Linked DNA regions of Homo sapiens: regions 2 and 3 are each linked to region 1. Evidence: promoter capture Hi-C in human tissues and cell types (Jung and others, 2019). All regions are on one chromosome and are shown on one strand. The core of a region is centred on a gene start or on the middle of the fragment in contact, and the rest is flanking DNA. Distances in the headings are between cores, read along the strand shown.

The links. The method cuts DNA at HindIII sites, captures the fragments that hold promoters and counts their contacts. A contact is called where the count stands out against the background at its distance.
Region 2: a contact is called between a fragment that was not itself captured here and the fragment with the promoter of EFCAB13 in region 1, in 1 of the 25 tissues and cell types used here (lymphoblastoid cells).
Region 3: a contact is called between the fragment with the promoter of TBKBP1 here and the fragment with the promoter of EFCAB13 in region 1, in 1 of the 25 tissues and cell types used here (IMR-90 fibroblasts).

What each region holds. Positions count from the first base shown.
Region 1 is chr17:47,322,509-47,326,436 of GRCh38, forward strand. It overlaps EFCAB13 (EF-hand calcium binding domain 13), which reads left to right and starts at 1,447. Exons shown (of 25, transcript NM_152347.5): 1 at 1,447-1,566; 2 at 1,946-2,015; 3 at 3,718-3,879. It overlaps EFCAB13-DT (EFCAB13 divergent transcript), which reads right to left and starts at 1,393. Exons shown (of 3, transcript NR_110880.1): 1 at 1,181-1,393. RefSeq lists a silencer at 1,176-1,585 and enhancers at 1,926-2,015, 2,056-2,235. The HindIII fragment of the contact is 8,264 bases long and covers 1-3,928 here.
Region 2 is chr17:47,676,343-47,679,847 of GRCh38, forward strand. It overlaps KPNB1 (karyopherin subunit beta 1), which reads left to right. Exons shown (of 22, transcript NM_002265.6): 16 at 67-149; 17 at 678-785; 18 at 1,704-1,847; 19 at 1,966-2,071. Among named protein-coding and RNA genes, the nearest start is that of TBKBP1, 16 kb to the right of the region's middle. The HindIII fragment of the contact is 3,989 bases long and covers 1-3,390 here.
Region 3 is chr17:47,691,447-47,695,410 of GRCh38, forward strand. TBKBP1 (TBK1 binding protein 1) reads left to right here and starts at 2,715. Exons shown (of 10, transcript NM_001394755.1): 1 at 2,715-2,748. RefSeq lists enhancers at 2,470-3,150, 3,151-3,830, 3,831-3,964 and silencers at 2,934-3,063, 3,314-3,373. The HindIII fragment of the contact is 16,798 bases long and covers 1-3,964 here.

The sequences.
Region 1 (3,928 bases), core at 197-2,696:
CATCGATGGATGAATGGATAAAGAAAATGTAGTAAACATATGCAATGGATACTATTCAGCCTTAAAAAAGAATTTCTGTCATTTGTGACAACATGAATCAACATATGCAATGGATACTATTCAGCCTTAAAAAAGAATTTCTGTCATTTGTGACAACATGAATCAACTTGGAGGACATACTAAGTGAAAAAAGCCAGGCACAGAAAGACACATACCACATGATCTCACTTATATGTGGAATCTTAAAAAGTCAAACTCATAGAAGTAGACAGTAGAATAGTTGTTAGAGGCTGGAAAGGGACGGGGCGGGTAGGAGATGCAGGATGGGGAGATGCTGTTCAAAGGGTACAAGGTTCAGTCAGACAAAAGCAGCAAGTTTCTGAGATCTATTGCATAGTGTGGTGACTATAGCTAATAATAATATATCGTATATCTCAAAACTGCTAAGAGTAAATTTCAAATGTCTCACCATAAAAAACGTTAAACAAGGTGATGGATATGTTAAGCTTGACTTAGTCGTTCCATATTGTATACATATATTAAAATATAACATTGTACCCCATTAAATATTTACAATTATGATTTGTACATATATTTAATAATAATAAAAATCTAAATAAAATATTAAAGAATGCCTACAAAGCAAGGTTTAAGATGTAAATGAACACAGTAGTATCACGGAAGGGATTAAATATTGTAACATTTATTGAGCACTACGTATATATTTTTGAATTCCCACAACCCTGGAAGAATGAGAAAATCGAGACTCAGGGAGCGTTAAGTATTTTGCCCAACTGCATACGATAAATACATAGGAAAAACAAACACACAGAAGAAAACCAAACCAACCAAAGTATCTCTTTCAAAAGGAAACGACAGTCTCCTTAAAGGCAACCCGAGACAAATTTCAGCAAAGCCGTGGGACACATGGCCTTCGAGCTGCTGTCCATTATTGAGTAGCAGAAGCCAAGAAGGATGGAATGTTTTGGAAGAAAGGGGTCGGGGGTCGGGGTGTTCAAAGGACGGACCGAAGGTAAGATTGAAGTGGGGTCAGACCATGGCGGGACAGCGCACCGGAGAATGAACAGCGATTAGGGAAGAGTGGCGAGCGGGTGGCAAGGACGGAGGGCGGAATCCCGGCCGGGGCTGCGGGAGGAAAGCGCACGGACAGGAGCCCCACCGCTCGAATGCAGCGCCCGGCGGCTGGCCTCGTGAGGTCACAGGCCCTTACGAGGTGGGGCAGGCAGGCGCGGCCGCAGTGCCTTCCAGTCAGCGCGGAGGCGGTATTGAGTTCAGCCGCTCCCCACAGCCCCGGAGCCCCTGGGCGGTGGCGGTGGCCGCGGCAGCACCGGCTCGACAGCCGATAGGGTCCTGGGCCCGCTCCGCTCGGGGTGGTCGGTGGGCGGAGCGTCGGGCTCGGTCAGGTGACCGCGGGGGCGGGGCCGCGCGGCGCGGGATCCTGGGAAGGCTGCAGAGCTAGAGCAGCGCCGCCCGAGGGGCGGCAGGGGCTGACCACAGAGAGCGCGGGGGCCTCCAGCCGAGAGGAAGGGAGGGCAGCTCGGGCCGGTAGTGGGACCCTTGGGGGACAGAGGTGGGGAGGGGAGGCGAGACCCGCTGAGGAGTTGGGAGGGGAGCCTTCGAGGTGGAGGGTGGAGAATGCAGTAGGGTGCGAGGGAGGAAGGAGAACAGTGGTGGGGCTGGGTGAAGGAAGGTTCCAGAAAGGAACAGTGAGGGGACTGAGTGGGACAAAGGGGCAGATTGAAGGGTGACTGAGACTGATCAGGTGGTTCCTCAGAAATGGTGGTTGTTGTAGAAGGCTGGCGGTCCCGGGGGTGGTGTCACTTCCCTGCTCCTTCAGCGGGAGGCGGAGACCTCTATTAGCACACTCATTTCCATCTTGCGGGTCGTTCACTCGCTAGCTTACAGGTCCTCTTTCTTCCTGTAGAAGTCGTTGGCTTCGTAAGAGCAGGGTCTATGGGAAGCCTCCTCAGCGTGGGTTCTTGGAAGAGGTGGAGGTTCGTTCACTCGACGTTTGTTACACAAATATGAAAACAGGGTGACGAAAGTTTGAACGTTCATGAATGGCAGTAGCTGCAATGGAGTTGTGTATGCAGTTGGTATTAATGACGTTTTCAGTCCCTCTGGCGAGAGAAAAGCGAGCGAGTCGGGCGGCTTGTGAGGGAAATGTGGCATGAGAGGAAAGAGGAAGGTATTTTGTGAAAGGATGTCATACAGAGTCATGCTTCAGTGAAGACGCCTTTGTTTTTCTCATCTTAAAGCCTCACAGCCCCATTTTCCTCTCAGCTACTGCCTTATTTCTCTTAACAACGTAACTCCTTGAAAGAGCCTACCCTACTGGCTGGGTTCAATTTCTTTACCCCGTTCTCTCTTGTACTCACTCTGACGACATTGTCTCCTTACCACCCCACCCAGATGGCTCCTTTCAAGTTTGTCAGTGTCCTCCGTGTTGTGAAACCTAGCGAACCATTCAGTACTGATCTTAACCGCCCACCCCACCCCCCTTTTTTTTTTTTGAGACAAGGTCTCTGTCGTCCAGGCTGGAGTGCAGTGGTGCAATCATAGCCCACTGCAGCTTCAAACTCCTGGGCTCAAAAGATCCTCCTGGCTCAGTCTTTGGAGTAGCTGGGACTAAGGTCGCCATGTCCAGCTGATTAAAAAAAAAATTCTGTAGAGGTGGGAGTTTCACTGTTGCCCAGGCTGGTCTTGAACTCCTGGCCTTAAGCAGCCCTCCTGCTTAGACCCCCACCCCCGCATCAAAGTGTTGGGATTACCTGCATAAGCCACCATGCACAGCCTGATTGCTCACTCTTGAAGTACTTTCTTCACTTGGCATTCAGGAACCCAGACCTACCTGATTTCCCTCCTCACAGTAACCAGAGTGATCCTTTCAGAAAGAACTTCAGATTATGTAATCCTTCTCCTCAGAACTCTTTCAATGCTTGTCACTCCTTCAGAGTACAAGCCACAGTTCTTACTGTCATCTAGGGGTCCTCCATGATATGCCACTTTCACTTAGCCTCTCTGATCTCTCCTGCTTCAGCCTCCTGGGGCCTTCCCACTATTCCTTGAACATTCTTCTTGCCTCGGGGCTTTTGTACTTACTTTTCTTTCTGGCTGAAATGCTCTTCCCTAAGATATTAATCAGCTCCCTACTTCAGTTCTTGCAGGTCTGTACTCAAAAGTCTCCCTCTCAGTAAGGTCTTCCTTGGCCACCCATTCTGTTCCCTGCATCTCTTCCCCTATACTACATTTCATATTCCCCTCCCTGCTTTACTTTTTTTTTTGTACTTATTGCAGATAACATACAATATGTTTTATTTTTCTATTTTATTATTTCACTCCCTGACTAGAACATAAGCTTCATGAGGGCAGATTTTATATATATATAAACAAAATATATATATATATATATATATATATATATATATATATAGCATATATATATTTTGTTCATTGGTATATCCCTAGAGCCTAGGAGAGAACCTAGTGCACACTAAGCATGCAGACATATACGTTGAATTCATGGATAGAAAGGTGAATGGATAGATGACTGGAGAAAAGGGATACGACTCCCTCCATTTCTCTTGATTTGTTCCTGCAAGTTCACCGATAGAAGACAGGATTGAAATAGTTGAGAAAAATTATATTGTCAGAGTTACAGGGAATAGACTTTCTAAGTTAATTTTTTCTTTTAAGTTTGGAGAGGCTTATGCGGTACCTGATTCATCCAGCAAATTAAGACCTGCCAACTTTTTGATAATCTCGTCAATAAATTACAGAACAATTGTTCCTTTCAAGATTTATTCAAAACGTGTCAACTCTGCTTAATTAAGCACTTTGATGATTTAAGAAATCTTGGTGAGTAGCTTAGTAGGAAGGGAATTTGTTCATTCATCCCTCTCTCCCT
Region 2 (3,505 bases), core at 146-2,645, 350 kb after region 1:
TTATTTCTGCCTGCCTCTGTGTTAACCCGTGGTGCTGTCATTGGCTAATAGCTTATTTCATTACAGTGTTGGGTGGTGAATTCCTCAAGTACATGGAGGCCTTTAAACCCTTCCTGGGCATTGGATTAAAAAATTATGCTGAATACCAGGTAGGATGTGCTTTTCAAAATAGTATGTTCCCATTTATATCTGACAGTCACTGTAGTGCACGCAAAACCAGGTTCTTATAGCTTAAGTAGTTTTTCCTGATACATTGTCCTAAAAGGCAAGCTACTTTATTCATTGCCTGAACGTTTGAACTGGAAGTAGTCCATGAAAAACAGGATATTAGATGTACCAGATAACGGTGGACAAGATATTAGATGTAACAGATAATGGTGGACAAGATGACTGTTTATTTGCTTAGACAGTACTAATGCAGGAGCAGCTATAAAGTTGAGCTATTAGCACCCTGGAGAGCAAGGCTTTTTTTTTTTTTTTTTTTTTAACTTTATCAGTGATCTCTCTCGGATAGTCTTTGTTCCCTGCCTGCCATGTTGGTTGTTGAAAAATTAATCTCGGCAGAGGGATTTAACTCTAGGTTCAAGTGATAAAAGCTCAGCAGCTAGTTAAAAATAATATCTTGCCCCAGCAGGCAGCCTTTTCTGTTAGAAGATTATTTCCTTGATTCTTGGCAGGTTTGTTTGGCAGCTGTGGGCTTAGTGGGAGACTTGTGCCGTGCCCTGCAATCCAACATCATACCTTTCTGTGACGAGGTGATGCAGCTGCTTCTGGAAAATTTGGGGGTGAGTATCTACACACAATCTAATTAACCAGTCTTCTTTGAAGAAAACAACAGTTGGAAAGATAGTTAAATATCGACCAGGCTGGGCGCAGTGGCCTGTAATCCCAGCATTTTGGGAGGCCGAGGCAGGCCAGGAGTTCGAGACCAACCTGGACAACATGGTGAAACCCCGTCTGTACTGTAGATACAAAAAAAATTAGCCGGGCGTGATGGCAGGCGCTTGTAATCCCAGCTACTCGGAAGGCTGAGGCAGGATAATCGCTTGTACCCGGGAGGTGGACGTTGCAGTGAGCCAAGATCACGCCATTGCACTCCAGCCTGGGCAAGAAGAGCCAAACTCCGTCTCAAAAAAAAAAAAAAAAAAAAAAAATCAGTGACAGGGAGCTGTAAGTTTCTAGAACATTGGCTTTGGGCTTATAAAGAGGGGAGTTGTTCATTTCACAGATGACTCTGAAGAAAGATTGTAAAGTTAAAGGAATGTGTGCTCTATTAGAGATTTTTAAAACAAAACAGTAAAATGCAAAGGAAAAGTAAATACAGTTGTTCCTTGACTTATGATGGAGTTAGGTCCCAATAAACACATTGTAAAGTGGAGAAATCATCAAACCATCATGAGCAGGGGACCATTTGTATATTATACCTCTCTCCAGAGATAGCCATCATTAATTATTGTACATGTGTGTTCTCAGACAAGTCACTTGATTCTTAAGTCAGTCTCCTCATGTGTAAAGTGGGAATACCAATACCTGGGCTAGCTTCTTAGAGTTGGTGTGAGGTGCAAATGGGAAAGGTTTTGTAAGCTATAAAGGACCATCCAAATATTTAAAATCAATAGTTGCTTGTTAGAAATGAAATTTTCATGAATCTTTGGACCAAACAAGTTTTGACTTAATTCACTTTTCCTTTTGTTCCTTGTCAGAATGAGAACGTCCACAGGTCTGTGAAGCCGCAGATTCTGTCAGTGTTTGGTGATATTGCCCTTGCTATTGGAGGAGAGTTTAAAAAATACTTAGAGGTTGTATTGAATACTCTTCAGCAGGCCTCCCAAGCCCAGGTGGACAAGGTAAGCTTAAAGCTATCTTGGCTGTTCTTTAAGTCTAGCTCTAATTGGAGGGACTATTGACAAACATGCAGCTAAAAGTGATCAGTGTGATGTAGGTTCTGTTCTTTGTGTCTTACAGTCAGACTATGACATGGTGGATTATCTGAATGAGCTAAGGGAAAGCTGCTTGGAAGCCTATACTGGAATCGTCCAGGGATTAAAGGGGGATCAGGAGAACGTACACCGTTGAGTATACAACCCAGTTCCCTTCGTCCGCTCGCCAATGTGCACTTAGCCAAGTGGGCTATGTCTGTCATTCTGTAGCTCGCTTGTGAACCTAGTGCCTGTTGCTTAAAAGGCTGGGAGAAGGGGGAGCAGTGCCCTAATGAAGAGAGTGGCTTGGGGAAAACTGTAGACTACTGTTTTTGCTCTGCTTCTTCTTTCTTTTTTTTGTTTTGAGACGGAGTCTCACTCTGTTGCCCAGGCTGGAGTGCAGTCGTGCAATCTCGGCTCACTGCAACCTCCACCTCCCAGGTTCAAGCAGTTCTCCTGCCTCAGCCTCCTGAGTAGCTGGAACTATACACATCTGCCACTATGCCTGGCTAATTTTTATATTTTTAGTAGAGGCAAGCTTTCACCTTGTTGGTCAGGCTGGTCTTGAACTCCTGATCTCAATTGATCCACCCGCCTTGGTCTCCCAAAGTGCTGGGATTACAGGCTTGAGCCACTGTGCCCAGCCTTTTAAATTTATTTTATTTTATTTTTATTTTTTGGAGACAGTCTCACTCTCACCCAAGCTGGAGTGCAGTGGAGCGATCACAGCTCACTGCAGTCTTCACTTCCTGGGTTCAAGTGATTCTTATGCCTCAGCTTCCTGAGTAGCTGGGACTACAGGCACACACCACCATGCCCAGCTATTTTTTTTTTTTTTGTATTTTAGTAGAGATGGGATTTCACCATGTTTTGCAGGCTGCTCTCGAACTCCTGAGCTCAGGCAATCTCCCACCTTGGGCTCCCAAAGTGATGGGATTTCAGGCGTGAGCCACTGCACCCAGCCCTCTGCTTCTTTTTCTCATATTTCTTGAGTATTACAAGGGATGGGATTCAGCAAAAATGTTGGGGGGAAGAAACCCAACATAAATGCTTCCTGTATCAACCATGAGTGGCAGGTCCCCTACCCCTTTCCCATCCCCACAAGCTAAATTGGAGGACTGGGGAGTCATAATTCCCGTTACGTGTTCTTGTTGCTGATTGGGGAAATTTTTTACTTCACCCCCCTTGGTATCATTAGCTCAGGAAAAAGTTAAATTTGTTTCTTCTATATTTGCCTATAGGAAGAGGAATATTTGTCTCTTCTGTCGACTTGAGGAACGACACATTAATCAAAGGAAGAATAATTTGATATAACTATATGCATCTAGTTATCCAGCTTGGACCTTGTATGATAGGGGTATAATAGTTGGAAATTTTGAAAAAGGATGTAGTCCTGCCATATGAGGGACAGCTGCATCAGACCTTCTCTCTCTTTTTTTTTTCTTTTTTTTTTGAGATGGAATCTTGCTCTGTCGCCTAGGCTGGAGCGCAGTGGCGCAATCTCGGCTCACTGCAAGCTCCGCCTCCTGGGTTCACGCCATTTTCCTACCTCAGCCTCCTGAGTAGCTGGGACTACAGGCGCCCGC
Region 3 (3,964 bases), core at 1,465-3,964, 370 kb after region 1:
GTAAGAGCTCATCAAGGAGACCTTCTCTGAATACTGTGAAGCAGATCCCATCCTCCCATTCTTCTCTAGTACTGCCCCTTGGTGTTTCTTTTTATCCTTTATCACAATTTCCTTCCTTCCTTCTTTCCTTCTTTCTTTTTTTTGAGACGGAGTTTCGCTCTTGTCACCCAGGCTGGAGTGCAATGGGGTCACCTCGGTTCACTGCAACCTCTACCTCCTGGGTTCAAGCAATTCTTCTGCCTCAGCCTCCCGAGTAGCTGGGATTACAGGGACCCACCGTCATGCCTGGCTAATTTTTGCATGTTTAGTAGAGACGGGTTTCACCATGTTGGTCAGGCTGGTCTCAAAGTCCTGACCTCAGGTGATCTGCCTGCCTCAGCCCCACAAAGTGCTGGGATTACAGGCATGAGCCACTGTGCCTGGTCCTTTATCACAATTTCTAGTGGTTTTACTTATTCATCTTTTTATTTTTCTGACTTCTCTACCATACTGCAAGCTCTAAGAGAGCAAGAGACATGTATACCTGTCAGAGACATGTTCAGCACTGTATTCTCAGCACCCAGCACATAATAGATGTTCAAGAAATCTTTGCCGAATAAATATACAACGAGCAGGTACCAACCCTCAGGGCACCTTAGAATACAAGGATGGATGGGATATAATCTCTGCTCTCAGAACTGCCTGGTATGAGCAGCAGAACTAGAAATGGAGAATGCAATGAGATCAGGTCCAGATTGGGGGAGGGGGAGGATTTTAGGGCACCTAAACCAGGCCTAATGGACTTTTGCCACCAACCACCTAGAACCAAGGATAGAAGCATTTGGCTGCACCCTGCCAGGTGACTCAATTAGGCCCTGAGCATCCAAGCAGCAGCAGGGGGCTGATGACTCATCCCAGACAGTGTGTGCTTAGAGGGTCCTGGGACCCCTTTTTCCAGTGAGGGAGGGCTTGCCAGTTGGTCTTATGGGTCCTGTTTGTGGCCAAGTCCAAGGTCACCGAGGGTCCCAGAGACAACCCTACACCTCCTAGTCTAGCCTCCAATCTTTTGCCTGGTCCCTTGCTTCAGAAGAGATCTTGGGGAGTACTAGGGAAAGGAACATCTGCCTAGCCCTTGGGATTAGTGGGGTGACAGATGTCCCCACTGGTTTGCCTTCATATCTAGAGGGTAGATAGGTCATCCCACATGGTTCAGAGAAAGCTAGTGCCTCAGAGAACAAGTGGCTGACCTGCCTTCCTGTTCTGGACTACAAACGGGAGCCAGTGCTGGCAGGAAAGACTGAAAGGGAACCCAGCAGGAGGAGGAGGAAGGAAGCCACTGAGAATCCCCCCTTCTATGAAGAGAATGAGTCTAGAGCTCTGGCTGGCTCTCCTGGTAGAAGCTCACCTCTCAGTCCAATTTTCTCCCAGCAGTGAGGAAAGATGGCAGCTGCTGCTTTTCAAAGCTCAGAGAGAGCAAGAAACCTTTTCCTTCCATCCTCCCCCTCGGAGATTCCCACCCCCATCCCACCTCAGGAGCCAAAAAGGTAGGCTCAGGTTCCCAGCAGTCTTCGCAGCTAAGGCTGAATCTGCCAAAAGCCCCCGCCCAGCTTATCCCCTGCTTCCGGGCTTTGCCTCCCTGTCCACAGAGGATGCTCTTCAGCCAGAGTGCTCCAGGGTTCCCCTGATCATTCTCTACCTGCAGCTAGGCTGACCATGCCTCTGTCCACATTATTTAATCCACCAGGCAATACTCAAAATGACATCGTTAACACTTCCTGAGCATTCGCAGGCTGCTGTATTTAGTTCTGATCCCCATTCTTCCTCCATGAGAGTGCTTAGGTGGGGCATGATCTCCAGCTTAGAAAGGTTAAGGTAACTTGCCCAAGGTCACACAGCAGGAAAGTAGCAAAAAACTTGTTTCTCTTGCCCAGCAGTTTGGCAGGTGCTCAAATAATCTTTGTGCACAGGGTGACATCTGTTGTTTCTTCATTTCCCTGACCTGTGGGTACTTGAGGGTGGCCGGGGAGTGGTGTGTGGGGAGGGAGATGGCTGTCCTTCTTCATGAATGAATCTTTGACCTCCTTAGTTTACTCTCACTTCCAAAGAAGTTACAGCTTTAATCTCTCTGTACCCTATGTTCAATGTATTTATCGCAGCAATGCCCCTTTTACCAAGAGCAACGAAGAGCAGGTCTAATGATTTCCTTCTCAAAAGCGCAAAGACCAAAAAAAAAAAAAAAAAGCCAGATAAATAGCCCCACTTCCTCCCCAAATATACAGCCCATAACTAAACAACCAAAACAACCAAAGCATCAGCCGGGCCCCTGCACTGACCGCAGACGCCCCCAACACACGCCACCACGCCACACTGCGCCGGGAGGCGTCGGGGAGGGGGCGCCAGCGCGGGCCGCTGGCGCCGCAGGGAGCCGGTGGGCTCCGGGCGCGCTGCCAGGAAGGGCCGCACCGTAGGGGCCGCCGCCTCTCGCCACGTGGTGGTGGCAGCGGCGGGGTCCGGGGCGCCTTCCCAGCTGGAGAAACCCGGAGCAGCCGGGGAGGAGGAGGCGGAGGAGGCGGCGGCGGCGGAGGAGGAGCGGGGCGGACGGGAGGGAGGGGGTTGGGGGGAGGGGTGGGGGGTGGGGAGAGACCCGGCGGCGGCGACAGGGCGAGGAGCAGAGCGCGGTACCAGGGGGGTGGGGGCACTGGTGCCCGTTTGGGGAGGGAGCAGGCGGAGGGGGTAAGCTGCGATTACAAGCAGGAACCGGCAGCAGCTGTGAGTCCCCGGCTGGGGCTAGGGCTGGGGGAGGGGAGCGGCGCCCGGGCTGGGCCCCAGGGGTCGCGGGGTGGGCAGGAGGAGGCGGCAGGAGGGCGGCTGGCAGCCGCACGGGATGGCTGGGAGGGAAGGGGTCCGGTGTCGGCCGCCCTCATCCCCTCGCGTCCCCCTCCGCCGCCGTTCCTCAGGCCGCGCCACTCCCGGAGCCCCTTCCCCGGCCCCGAGAGGGTGTCCGGGGGCCCAGGGCTCGGCCGGTTGTGGGGGAGGGGGCTGCGTGGTCTCGGCCCCCGAGAGGGGAGGGGCGACAATTTCTGTCGGCCGAGCGAAAGGGGTTTAAAGGGCGGCTCTTAAAGGGGCCGCAGGAGGGGCCCGGGCCGACAGAGGCACTCACCCCTTCCCCAGCCGCCTTCCATTGCGCTCACCCGGGCGCTGGGCCCAGAGAGGAATGCGGAGGAAGGAGGCATTTGTGGTGCGGCCTCGGGGACAGAGCCCCGCCAGCGGGGTGGGCGCAGAGGGGCGGGCGGGGGTCTGGGGGGGTGTGGTAAGCGCTGGCGCGCGGAGCTGGGGGGAGGGGATGGCGTGGGAAGGAGAGGGTTAAAGGTGGGGCCGGCCCTACAAACGCGCGCACACACTCCTTACTCAGACCCAGTCACTCGCGTTTCCCTGGCACTTAGATGGGCCTGTGGGTGGCGGAGGGGGGGGGGTGGATTGAATTGGAGCCTGCGCCGGAGCCCTTTGCACCCCAAGCTCCTGCAGCCCGACCTGGGGGCCCCGCTGTCTGAACTCACAGCTCCCTGCCGAGCCCCCTCTCCGGGGTGCACATAACGCTCCAGCGCGCGCACACACCTCGGACAGTCCCCTCGCGTCTCACGTGACACGCGGCCCGGACGTGCCACCCTGCCCACGCGCTCACGCACGCGTGCACACACCAGCCTCCTGGTCGCTGCCCCACTCCGTCCCGACGCCCCTGCGACCCCGAAGGCACTCATTGACTGACACACCTACACTCATTCACAGACGCACACTCCCCCCATACGCCAACCCCAGACACACATTCATAACCAGGCCCGAGAGAAGTACACACGCACCCCCTCACTGCCTACTCCTGCTTTCGGGAGCCTGAGTCATTCCTGCCCCCTCGTAGGGTTCCCCATTTCCCGGTGCGCGGGCACCCTGAGACAGCCTTGGGAATTCGTTCGCGTCCCCTTCCACCTGG